4 separate regions of the Homo sapiens genome follow, and regions 1, 2 and 3 are each linked to region 4. Evidence: promoter capture Hi-C in 16 types of primary human blood cells and fetal thymus (Javierre and others, 2016). All regions are on one chromosome and are shown on one strand. Each heading gives the region's core, a stretch centred on a gene start or on the middle of the fragment in contact. The rest is flanking DNA. Distances are from core to core; before and after follow the strand shown.

Region 1 (2,868 bases), core at 6-2,505, 570 kb before region 4:
CTGTGATATGAATAAAAGATAATCACATTGTGTTAACCCACTGAGATTTGGGGGTTGTTTGTTACAGTGGCTAACGTTACTTACTCTAGCTAACATACTCTTAGGTTTTATTAACAGATGGGATGAGATAATGCATGCAAAGTGCCCAGTTCTATGTCTGATATACAGTAGGTCCCTAGCATAGCACTCTACCTGAAACATGGTAGGTGCTCAGTAATTAAGGGTTATAAAAAGTCAACCAGTTGCTTTTCTTAGAGGCCCTAGAGACAGCATCGTAGCCAACATGAGCCTTTTGTAGCTGATGAGAAAGACAAAGCTCTCAGTATGGAAAACCAGTGAAAACACAGGGACAGATCTACAGGGAAAGTGGTTAGAGAAAAGGCACACGGGGAAAATTTTTTATAGGAATAGTCATCTGCTATGAAGTGAATGTTTGTGTCCCCCTGAAATTCATATGCTGAAATCTAAATCTCTAATGCCCTGATTTGAGGAGATGGAGGCTTTGGGAGGTAATTAGGTCATGGGGATGAAGCCCTTGTGAATGGGGTTAGTGTTATTTATAAGAAGAAACAGGAGAGCGTGATCTCACTCTCTGCTCTCCTCCACATGAGGACACAGCAAGAAGACACCCTCTCCAAACCAGGAAGTGAGCCATCACCAGACACCAGACCCACCAGCACCTTGATCTTGGACTTCCCAGCCTCCAGTGGGCAATAAATGTTTGTTGTTTAAGGCACCCAGTCTGTGATAATTTATTGTAGCAGCCACATCTAAGACATCACCATATACATTTTCATCTGACTTCTCCTTCTGGACCCTGGTAAATACTCCATCAAATCAGTCAGCTCTCTCGAGTCCCCTTTTCCTTGCCTTAGCCCTACCAAGGCCCTGAGTCTTTCTCTCTCTTGCATGGTCTAAGTGTTCCTCAGTTTTGGCTGCTTCTTCCCCTAGAACAAGACCCCCTTCCCAGCCTTTGCCTGGCCCCTGCTGAACGTAGCCACCCTGGCTTATTTATAAAGTAGCTACTATGTGCAAGGTCTGGCACTAAATAGGTACCAAGCAAGGACGGTGAGAGTGGTCAGCCTTGGGTGCAAAGCAACAAGAGGGCACATTGTAGAAAATGTAAACACCAGGATGACACTAAGTGTCAGTATGCTTTTTATGATCACTGTATGAAGGCAATCCTAAATGATGTCAGCAACGCAGACTACTTCCTGCTGGGATGACTCCCCCTCATAACCCACACAGCCTTTGGAATGTCATTGGAGAAAAAGTCTAAAGCTACCTAGTCCCTGCCCTCAAGTTGCCTGTAGCTCAGCAGCAGAGAATGACAGCTAAATGAATCAAGAATGTGAGGAGCAACAAATGTCAGGGAAGGCTTTGCCAAAGAAATGGTAGTGGAGCTTAACTGTGCTCCGCTAGCAGGACCAGAGCTAGGATTCTGCCAGGTAAAGAAGAGGGAACTGCAGGTACCCTGGCCCAGAGGCCTGACACCTGATGCAGATAGGAGACTAAAGGTATAATAGTTCCCTGTGGCTGGAGGTAAAGAGGCACTGGGCAAAAAGACCCCTGCAGATGATCAGAGCAGAGAGGCTGGTAGAAATCAATTCCAGAAGGGCCTATATCCTGTTGGTAATGACGAACCAGCAAGGCATTTTTCTTTCTTTTTTAAAACTTTATTGAGATAGAATTCAGTTCAATGGCCTTTTTTCTTCATTTCTCACCAAAATCAATTTTAGAATCTTTTCACTGCCCCAAAAGAAACCCTGTACCCCTTTGCTGTCACTTTCCAATCCTACTCTTGGGCACAAACATAGGAGCAGCAAAAGGTTTTTTAACAGAAGAATCATAAAAGTCTATTTTCATTTTTAAAAGAGCCCTCCTTGACCTGCCACTGCCCAAGGCCTGGCAGGGCACATGCAGACACAATGCTGTGGTCTGACTGTGTCCTCCAGATTTCATATGTTGGAAACTTAGCCCCCAATGTGGCAGTATTGAAAGGTGGGGCCTTTAGGGGGTGATTGGATTATGAAGAATTGTGCCCTCAGGAATGGATTAATCCATTTGTAGATTAATGGGTTAATGGATTAATGGGTTATCATGGGAAGGAAACTGCTGACTCTATTACAAGAGGAAGAGAGACCTGAGCGAGCCCATTAGCACACTCAGCCTCTGCCACATGATGCCCTGCAGAGCATCCCTTGCCTGTCCACGCTCTGCAGAGGCCTCACAAACAAGAAGGCCCTCACCAGCTGCAGCTTCTCAACCTGGGACTTCTCAGCCTCCATCACTGTAAGAAATAAATTCCTTTTCTTTATAAATTACCCCGTTTCAGGTATTCTAAGTAACAGAAAATTCATTCGTACCCATACTCACTACTTCTTGCATCATCCTCAGGATGTAAGGACCTACCTGGGGCTCCAGGACTCTCTTTCCTCACCAGCTGCAGCCTCTCAAGTGCTTGCACCTGCACACCCAGCCCACCCGCACCCAGACCCTGGTTTCCTGCCTTGGCAAGAAGCACGTAAGGAGAACATAGCTGGAAAGGTTTTTGCCTCAGGCAGGGTTGACACATTTGGGTTCTGCTTCCTGGTGACTGAACTTAGCACAGCATCCTCTGAGATTCCCTACCTCTTGGCTTGCTCATTACTTCAGAGAGTTAACTTCCTCCCCCTCCAAACCGTCCTTCCTTACCCATGCTGTCAAATCATACTTCTCCCCCTTCTGCAAATGAACAAAACCTACCATAGCAGTAATCACAGGATTCCCTGTAGTTTCCTCGGGACCCCTGCAGGGGAGGTATTAATTGTCCTCATTTTTTAAATGGAGACACTGAGGCTCAGAGAGTTCACATGTTGTTCTTAATGC
Region 2 (2,700 bases), core at 58-2,557, 530 kb before region 4:
GGAGAAGGGAGAGAAAAGACATTACTCAGTCTTCAAAAGTACACCCCAAACTCATGCGAACTGTGAGCTGACACTGCCATCTGCTCTCCCTGACATGTGGTGTGGGAAGCATGATTACCATTTTCCTCTAAGGCCAGCGTCCTCTTTAGGATTCTCCCTCTAGCACCGGGCCTAGGACAGTCTTAATCCTGACAGTCCAGAACTTCAATTTTACTATTCACTCAACAAATACTTTTCAAGCATTTATATGCGCCAGACACTGTTATAAAGTCTGGGATGTAGCAATCACTAAAGTAGGAAAAGTTCTGCCTTGTTGGGGTGTTTATTTGCTAGTTAGGGGGACACAGGAATTAACAAATAATCAAGTATGAATAAACAGACTATCAGATGGTGATAGGTGCTATGGAAAAAGCAAGGCAGATTAAGAAGGACAGAAATCATCCAGGCAGGGGTGGGGGGAGTGGGGGATGTGGATTATGTGGTGCGGTCAGGGAAGGTCTCACTGAAGAGGTAACATCTCAGGAAGACCCAAGCAGGGGAAAGAGAGGCCATGTAGAATTGCAGGGCAGGGTTTTTCAGGCAAAGGGATCAGAAAGGGCCAAGACTGTGAGGCAGGAGAGGGATTGGTGTGTTTACAGAACAGCAAGGGGCCAAAAGGAGCGAGGAATGACGGTGACAGTGGAAGGAGCTAAGACAGGAGAGGTGGCCGGAAGCCAGATCGCTTGCAACCTTGCAAACCATTTTAAGGACTTCACCTTTAACTCAGCACATCAGTCAGGGCCTAACCAGGAGACAGAAGCCACACCAGTTATTTTAACACGGCTAATTTAATATAAAGAATAATTTTCTAGGAATAAAGTCTTAACCAGGTAACTGAAAGAGTAAAAAGACAACTCTAAGGTGTCTTTCGTATAACAACTTCAGGAAGCTCCACCCCTGGGGCTGGCAGAAGAAAAAGGGGGCTGTCGGATAATTAAAATTTAGAAGCTTAGAAAACAGTCCCATGGGGCTAGAACCCAAACCTCAAAGATGGGGCAATGGCAGTCAGTGCTGTGGCCCTAAAAAGGCACAATGAGTCTGGTTCTTGAGTGTAGGAAAAATTGCAACGTAGATTGAACAGCTGCTACAGGAAGAAACTGCTGCTGCCAAGATGAAGCAGCAGTACTGGGGTGCTGCACACAGGAGCCACAGGCAGACAGGATACCCATGGGAAAGAGTAGGAGCCTCTCTAGCAACCCCTACTGGCTGAGTGCAACAAGGAGCCCAACAAAGGAGAAATGCAGTGTTCAGGGGCCCAGCATAGAATCAAGTATTGAAGGAAGGCTTTGGAGCTGAAAGATGATAACTTACTAACTGGAACTCTCTGAATGAGATAAGATTTTGAGCAAGGAAGTGACAAAAGCTGACTCACTCTGACATCTGTGTTGAAAACAGACAGTAGAGGAGCAGCAACAGTGGAGGAGGGAAGGAGTGGATGGATTCTGAATACAGGCATCCCACTGGATTTGCTGATGGTGTCCATGTGAGCTGTGAAAGAGAGGAGTCAAGGGTGACTCCTTCATCGAGGCCTGAGTAACTGAATGGAGACAAATTTACTGAGGGAGCAGGGAGAGCAAGGGGGCAAGAACAAGCTTGTTAGGTCAGCTTAGGTGTGAGGTGCCTGTTAGAAATTCAACTGAGGGGCTGGGCGCCTGTAATCCCAGCACTTTGGGAGGCTGAGGCGGGTGGGTCACCTGAAGTCAGGAGTTTGAGTCCAGCCTGGCCAACATGGTGAAACCCCACCTCTATTAAAAATACAAAAATTATCTGGGTGTGGCAGACACCTGTAGTCCCAGCTACTCAGGAGGCTGAGGTGGAAGAATTGCTTGAGCCCAGGAGGCAGAGGTTGCAGTGAGCCAAGATCGTGCCACTACACTCCAGCCTGGGTGACAGAGTGGGACTCCATCTCAAAAAAAAGAAAGAAAGAAATTGGACTGACAATGACAGCAGGCAGTTGCATCCCCAAGCCTGGGGAGGGTTTAAGTTAGAGATATAAATTTGAGGCTCACCCATCATATAGATGGATTTTAAAGCCACATGATTGAATGAGATCATGCGTGTCATCTCAACGTCACTTAGAATATGACATGGCTAAGAATCAGCTCTGGAATCAGAATGATGTCAATTTGAATTCAAACTCTATCGTCACTGGATTTTCTCAGATGTTCTAAGCCCTGATTCCCTCATGTGTAACCTAGAGATGATACTAATCATGCTGACTACACTGATCTTATGTACGGATTAGATTCAGTAACGTAAGGAAAGCCCTTACACCAGTGCCTGATATCAACTCTTATAAATAAGAGTTATTATCATTATCATAGTTTTATGATATTATTAGTAGTCAAAGATAGCCAGAGCCTAGAAAATTAGGCTTCTAAGACCCAAAAGCAAAGAGACCTGAATTGTACTAAAAAGACAACTTATTAATTGTAGGAGAAGATACAGTGGCATCTTATGTGAAATAGGTATATAAACCATGACTCTGAATTACTGTGGCTTTCCTTTTACAGATACATTTATTCGGAGTACTAAAAATTTTTTTTTTTTTTTTTTTTTTTTTTTTTTTTGTAGAGACAGGGTCTCATGTATTGACCAGGCTGGTCTCCAACTCCTGGCCTCAGTGTCCCAAAGTGCTGGGATTCAGGTGTGAGCCCCCAT
Region 3 (2,926 bases), core at 191-2,690, 520 kb before region 4:
ACAATTTTTTTAAAAAGGATGCCAGAATCTTGCATGTCCTTCTCTGGAGCCAAGAGCATTGCACAGCCAGCCCGCCCGGGTTCTCTAAAGTTCAACTTCAGCAGGCCAGCCCAGGGCATACTCAAAATCTTCCCATGGGCAAATCTCTTCCAGCCAATGGGAACCTTTCAAAATCTACATTTCCATAGCCACATAATTAAGAACTAAATCTCACTCCCAATCACGTTGTAGAATTGTTTTAGATATAACAAGGTGTCCACCTAGGTAGAACTTTAAGAAGTTTCCAGTGGCGGTAATGTTCTGTTTCTTAATCTAGGTGATGGTTACGTGAGCATATTCACTTAGTAATAATTCATAGAGCTGTACACTTAGGATTTGTACACTTTTTAGTTAGACTTCATTTTCAGACCTGTTTTGCTATTTCTTGCATTATTCATGGCGTCTCACAAGATGACAAATTCTCAAAGTCCTCACAGAGCCTAGCAGGGTGCTAGGCTTCTAGCAGGAGCATGAGTTATGTCTATTGACACCATTAAAATTTGGAGATCTGGGGAGTATCAGAGAGAGAAAGACAGTGCACAGGGCACTGGGATAGTTTTGCAATGTCCTTCTACATCAGGGAACCAAAAGCATTCTGACCCCAAAGCTGCAGGTCAATAACGCAACCAACTTCATCAGCACAGGCCAGTAGAAAGAGGAAACTCAGCTGTGCTGCTGATAACCCATGTCTTAGGAAAATAACCCTTCTGATTTTAAAAAGATAGTTACGTGCATACACACACCCCAAAAGCTCGACTCTAGCCTCAACATGAGAGGAATTAATGTGATGGGATAAAAGTTAGTGCCTATTTTAAGAGGCAGTGACAACTAAAATAGATTGCAGATGGCAAGCTCTTCTGAACCCTGTAATAAGTCTATGATGGCCCATTCTCCAGGAAGCCAAAGTTGGAGCCAGAACTCCATGGTGTTGGAAATGCTGACAGCAATCATTTACTCCAAGAAACACAAGGGCTGGCCCTGAAGCGGAAGTGCTGGAGAAAAGCACCCCCGAAGGGTTGTGATGGACCCCCTCAAAAAAGGCCACAGTGGGAGGGATCAGTTTGATCTCCAATTGGAGTAGTCCTTTGAACTCTGACGCTAAGCTTTAGTGCAATGTGGTGCATTGGGGGTTGTTTCCATTTCAGCTGTTTCTCCATATGCCAGAGAGGAGAGTCGTGCCTGGCAGGCCTGGGCCAGCAATATCTAGAACACAGGCCTGGCTCCAGGAGAAGCCAGAAGCCTCCCCTCCTCCATCATGGTCCCTCTGTATGTGGGCAGAGAAGGAGGAGGGGGATCAAGGATCCAGGAGGAGGATTTGGTGCCAGGGAGATGACTAAGGTCTGACGCAATCACCACACGCATGTGGGACTCGTGAGATAAACAGATCTGGAGGGGGAACCAGTGCTCCAGGCTTGACCTTGGGGTGCCTCCCAGCCCCCATCTCGGTCCCTAGGCCCATTTAAGATGGAAGGTGAACCAAGATGCCCTGAGTTCTCATTTTTCTCTCTCTTGCTGGTTTTCTCTTGTTTGACAAATCGAACCGAACCCCAAAGGAAAAAAATGGGAAGGAGGGAGGAGGACTCCTTCCCATGCAGATTTATGGCATTCTGGATGCAGCTTGCATTTGTCAGGCCAAAATGGTTAGGGTGGGCTAATAGAGTAGAATTACAGCTTCCTATAATAGGGAAAGTTAAATAGACAAGCTTTCCTACCCTGAAGAGAACGAGGCAGAGGTCAGTGCTACTGGCTTTGAACATGAATGGCCCCTTCCCCTCGGTTCCCTTTCACATGTGGCCTGGCAACAGTAGCAGACAGATGCGACACAAAGCCAGACACACCTGATTAACCATGAATACAACAGCTGTCGTTTCCCCACCACCACAGATACCCACACCCTCGTTCTTTCCGCTTAGTTTTTTCCCTTTCTTTCAGCTAAGCGTGAGGAAATCAAACCTACCATTAAAACTCAAGTTAGTGGGAGGGTGTCAGCAGCCGGGCCTTTGTTTCTCTGCTCACAGACATGTAATAGGTACCTTCAGGGTTGTCCTTTCATCTGAAAATGCGTTGTGGTCTCCCGCTGAGGGCTCAGTCAGCTCAAAACCTGAGCCCCCAGAAAGGCCAGCAGAGGGTGGGGGAAGATGAAGGTGGCCTGAATGGGGACGGAGAAAGTGGACTTTTCTGGGGCACCTGAGTTTGTCTCTCTTCTCCTCTCTCCTCCTTTCCATCCGCTTGCCTCCATCCAACTACCACTCCCTGCTGCTAAAAACATCCACCCTTAAGATGGACTGGCTGTTCTGAATTTATCAAGAGGAAGTGGAACTCAACGTAGCATTGTCTTTCTGCAGCTTGCTTATTTCACTCTATTCTGAGCTGGTCTTAACAAAGAAGAATCAGGTCAGGTGGCTTTAGGGGTTTTTCTATTTGCCTCTCTTAGGTAGACAAATCCTTGAGTTCAAGTTAACTTCCAAGACCTTGCAAATCAAACACAGGAGGGAATCTAAGTGTTGAACTGCAAATGATTTCTAACGACATGAACAAAATGTAATGTGACTATATGAGCTTCCGGAAACCTACAGAATGGTAATTACAGCCCAGAGTATGAATCTTGATTTTTCTTCAGGTGTTCTTTTTCGTATTGTTTTGTTTTGCTGGGCAATCTCAAATTAACCATTTGACCTCTGTAAGCCTACATTTCTACTGCTTAAAATGGTTCTCTCTTTTGTCAAAAAGTCCCTGAAGCTATTACAAAGAGACTAATAAAAACGATCAGAAATCTCTTTGCAAACACTAAAACTTATAATAATAGGATGGATAACTGGGTAACTTAATCTCATAAAAAGTCAACAATATCCCTTATTTTCTCACATAAATGAAAACATAAAGGAAT
Region 4 (3,037 bases), core at 325-2,824:
GGTAAAAAGCAGGCTCTTGCGTGGCCCGGACAGTTGATATTCCTGGCACTCGGTGTTCGAGATGTTTCCTTACAATTGCGTGTCTGTGCGGCTCGGTCTCCATATTCCACTCATTTTTGTCTCAACATTTTGTGGTATTTTATCACAAAATACGCCCGGCAAAGCAAAGATCCCGTTCAGTCTCTTTAAACACGGCTATCTTTTCTCAGGAGGCAGCCGCCGGGGCTTCACTCCTGGGCCACCAGCGACGTCCTCCAAGCGGGTCGAGCGGAGGCGCGTTCGCGACCCAGGGGCAGCGTGCCGAGCCCGGGCGTGGGGGGGCGTGGCCTTTCCACTCGGCGACCCCCGGCCACCGCCCACCCCGCGCGTGGGGGCGTGCGCGACTGCGGGGCGCGGAGAGGGGTGACCTCGGACTACCCTAGGCGCCCGCAGCACGCTCTGTACACAGACGCGAGGCGCTGTCCTGAGGTGACACCGGCTGCACGGCACAAGCAGCAGGCGCCGCCGATCAACTAGTTCGCACCGAGGATTCCTCTTGGTGCGTGGCCCAGTTTTCCTTAGGACGGGCTCCAACCCCTCCCTGACACCGCCCCCCTCACCGCCACGCTCCGAGGCCTTCCCCGGGGAAGCCTCGCGTCCCTCCCCCGCGGCTCCGGGCCGCACGCGCGCGATTCCTCGATTCCACAGGCGGTTCGCGCCGCGGGTGGGGGCGGGGCGCGCGGGGAGGGGGCTGGCGGCCGCCAGGGGAGGGGGGCCGGGGCCCGGGGGGCGGAGGAGGGCCGGCGTGGGGAGTTCCTCGCTCGCGGACCACACGCTCCGCGGGCCAATCCCGAGCCAGCCTCTAGCAGTGTCGCACGCGGGACACGTCCAAGCGTTTGTTGGCACGGCCAGTGAGGGGGAGGGGGCGAGGAGGAGGGAGGGGAGTTGAGTGACAGGCTTTGCGGGGCAGGCTGGGAATTGTAGTTCCCAGCTTCCGTGGCCATAGCCATTTTGTAGTCGGGGGACTACAACTTCCAGAAGATCAAGGGGACCATTCTAAGGTGCCCCGGGAATAGGCGGCTCTCCCCGGGGCCGGGCGTCCTGGGGCACTCCTACCCAGCAGCCCGGCTGCAGGTAGACGCGAAGGCAGTGGCGGGGGCTGGCGTGGGGCGGCCGTGGGGTGAGCGGCAGGCAGGGGAAAGGGGGTGAGGTGGAGCGACGGAGCGTGCCATGCATTGAGCTAGGGAGCCTCTCTCAATTCCACGCCTGGGCTCGGCGTGGGAGCGACGCCCGAGGGCTTGCCTGGGAGGGGTTCGTCGAGGTCGCTCGGGTGTCTGGTTGGCCAGGCTGCGGGGGTGCCCTGGACTGGGCCAGGGGCGGTCGGCACCAGGCTAAGCGGGCGCCTGGCGGCTGAGCGGTGGGAGTTTTCGGCTGGCGCCCGGCGGGGAATTATCCGAGGAGCCCTAACTTGTATAAAAGCAGAGTCCATTTAAAGTTGGGCTGGATAGCCTCTCTCTCATTGGTTAGGGGGCTTGGAAAAAAGAGACTCGGCGAGCCCTCGCTGTGGTGCTGCCGCCGCCGCCGCCGCCGCCGCTGGAGTTGACTCTTCTGCTCGCACTGCTGCTGCAGCACAAACGTGACTTCCAACATTTTTTATTTATCTTTCCCTTTTCTTTTCCAAGATGTAACTACGGATCAGACACTAAGGACCTTCACGTTTCGCTGATGTAGTTTTTGGAGGAAAAAGGGGGGGGAGTGAAGGGCGTCGGTTTTTTTTTGTGTGTGTGTGTATGTGTTTCGGGGGAAATTTTCCATTATGAGTGTTTTACTAAAGTGAATTTTTTTTTGTTTGCTTCGTTCGTCTTTGGCTCTTTTTTTTTCCTTCCCAATTTCGGATTTATTTCAAGGCGAATCTGGCTTTGGGGGAAGAGGAAGAAAAGTCGGATTACAAGATCAACCACCACCAACAACAATAAAAACCACCAGGATATTTTTTTGCAAATTTCTGACGGCTTTAAATTCATGAAGCAATTGTCCCCTTTTGCAATCAGCATTTGGATCTCAGAATGAGCAAGGAAAGACCCAAGAGGAATATCATTCAGAAGAAATACGTAAGTGCTCCTAACAACACATCCTTTGACTTGCAGTTTTAAGCAATGGCTGTGAATGTCAAGTTTATAGATAATTCTGCCTCTGAAGGGTTTTAAACACAGCGTCCGATAAGGCTGTTTCTTTTTTTTCTGAAAGAGGGCTTTTCAAGCAAAGTGGTGTCTGCCTAGTTTGGTTGAAAAAACAGACTGGTGTAGAGATACCTCAAGTGAATAAATTGACCTCGAATGACACAACCATAATCTACTTTTAGATGAAAGGCAAGGGATTTTGGTGGAGCTTGAGGTGGGGGGTGGCTGCGGTAATGTAACTAAACTGCATTCTCAAGCGGATTTGGCCCCGTATTGCACTTTGCATGCAAATGAGCCTGTGTTATTATTATTAATGTTATTTGGAAAAATCGTGTAACGCATGTGTGTTGGAAGCCCTTTAAGTTGCGATCGAGGGTCCGATTATGGCGATCTTCTCTTTGCACTGGCACATCAAATTTAATGTCTGTGGTCGTTTTGGCTTATCTGGTTTGCAACATAAACCAGTTGGGAATCATGTTACAGCGAATGCATTTGTTGGGATTGACTTTAATAATGAGGCTGGTTTTGTTTAAAAAATTCATGGTTTCCAGTTGTAGGGGAAAAGGACACACACTATGGCTAATGTTTTTAAGTGTGTACGTGAATGCATATGTAAGTAACTACAAATAATTTCTCCCTGTTAACTGGGCTTCTGAAATTGGGTGATTATTCCTAGATTTAAATGGCTTGGAATAGTTAAATTTGTTTTGTGCATAGTACAGCTACGTTTTGATTGGCATGGGGAGTGTTTTTGTTTTGTGTGTGGTGGCTTTTTTTTTTTTTTAAGTTTGAGGGGAGGGAGGAAAGGGGGACCGAGGGATTAACCAAATATGCACTCGAGTGATCTGTGATTAGCTGCATGCTTTAAATTAAATAAC

Evidence for each region. The method cuts DNA at HindIII sites, captures the fragments that hold promoters and counts their contacts. A CHiCAGO score of 5 or more calls a contact.
Region 1: a contact is called between a fragment that was not itself captured here and the fragment with the promoter of JARID2 in region 4, in 1 of 17 cell types (fetal thymus). The highest score is 6.8, in fetal thymus.
Region 2: a fragment that was not itself captured here is called in contact with the fragment with the promoter of JARID2 in region 4 in 7 of 17 cell types (megakaryocytes, M2 macrophages, erythroblasts and 4 more); the score reaches 9.6 in megakaryocytes.
Region 3: a contact is called between a fragment that was not itself captured here and the fragment with the promoter of JARID2 in region 4, in 6 of 17 cell types (activated CD4 T cells, megakaryocytes, fetal thymus and 3 more). The highest score is 8.9, in activated CD4 T cells.

The regions. Positions count from the first base shown.
Region 1 is chr6:14,672,115-14,674,982 of GRCh38, forward strand. All of the region lies in intron 1 of LOC101928354 (a long non-coding RNA gene), which reads right to left. Among named protein-coding and RNA genes, the nearest start is that of LINC01108, 390 kb to the left of the region's middle. The HindIII fragment of the contact is 5,373 bases long and covers 1-2,868 here.
Region 2 is chr6:14,710,008-14,712,707 of GRCh38, forward strand. The region is part of intron 1 of LOC101928354 (a long non-coding RNA gene); the gene reads right to left. Among named protein-coding and RNA genes, the nearest start is that of LINC01108, 430 kb to the left of the region's middle. The HindIII fragment of the contact is 644 bases long and covers 986-1,629 here.
Region 3 is chr6:14,727,390-14,730,315 of GRCh38, forward strand. No RefSeq gene overlaps it. Among named protein-coding and RNA genes, the nearest start is that of LINC01108, 440 kb to the left of the region's middle. The HindIII fragment of the contact is 600 bases long and covers 1,141-1,740 here.
Region 4 is chr6:15,244,495-15,247,531 of GRCh38, forward strand. JARID2 (jumonji and AT-rich interaction domain containing 2) reads left to right here and starts at 1,575. Exons shown (of 18, transcript NM_004973.4): 1 at 1,575-2,090. The coding sequence starts at 2,046. It overlaps JARID2-DT (JARID2 divergent transcript), which reads right to left and starts at 880. Exons shown (of 1, transcript NR_187237.1): 1 at 1-880. RefSeq lists enhancers at 1-203, 1,393-1,442, 1,553-1,652 and silencers at 203-512, 523-782. The HindIII fragment of the contact is 5,356 bases long and covers 1-3,037 here.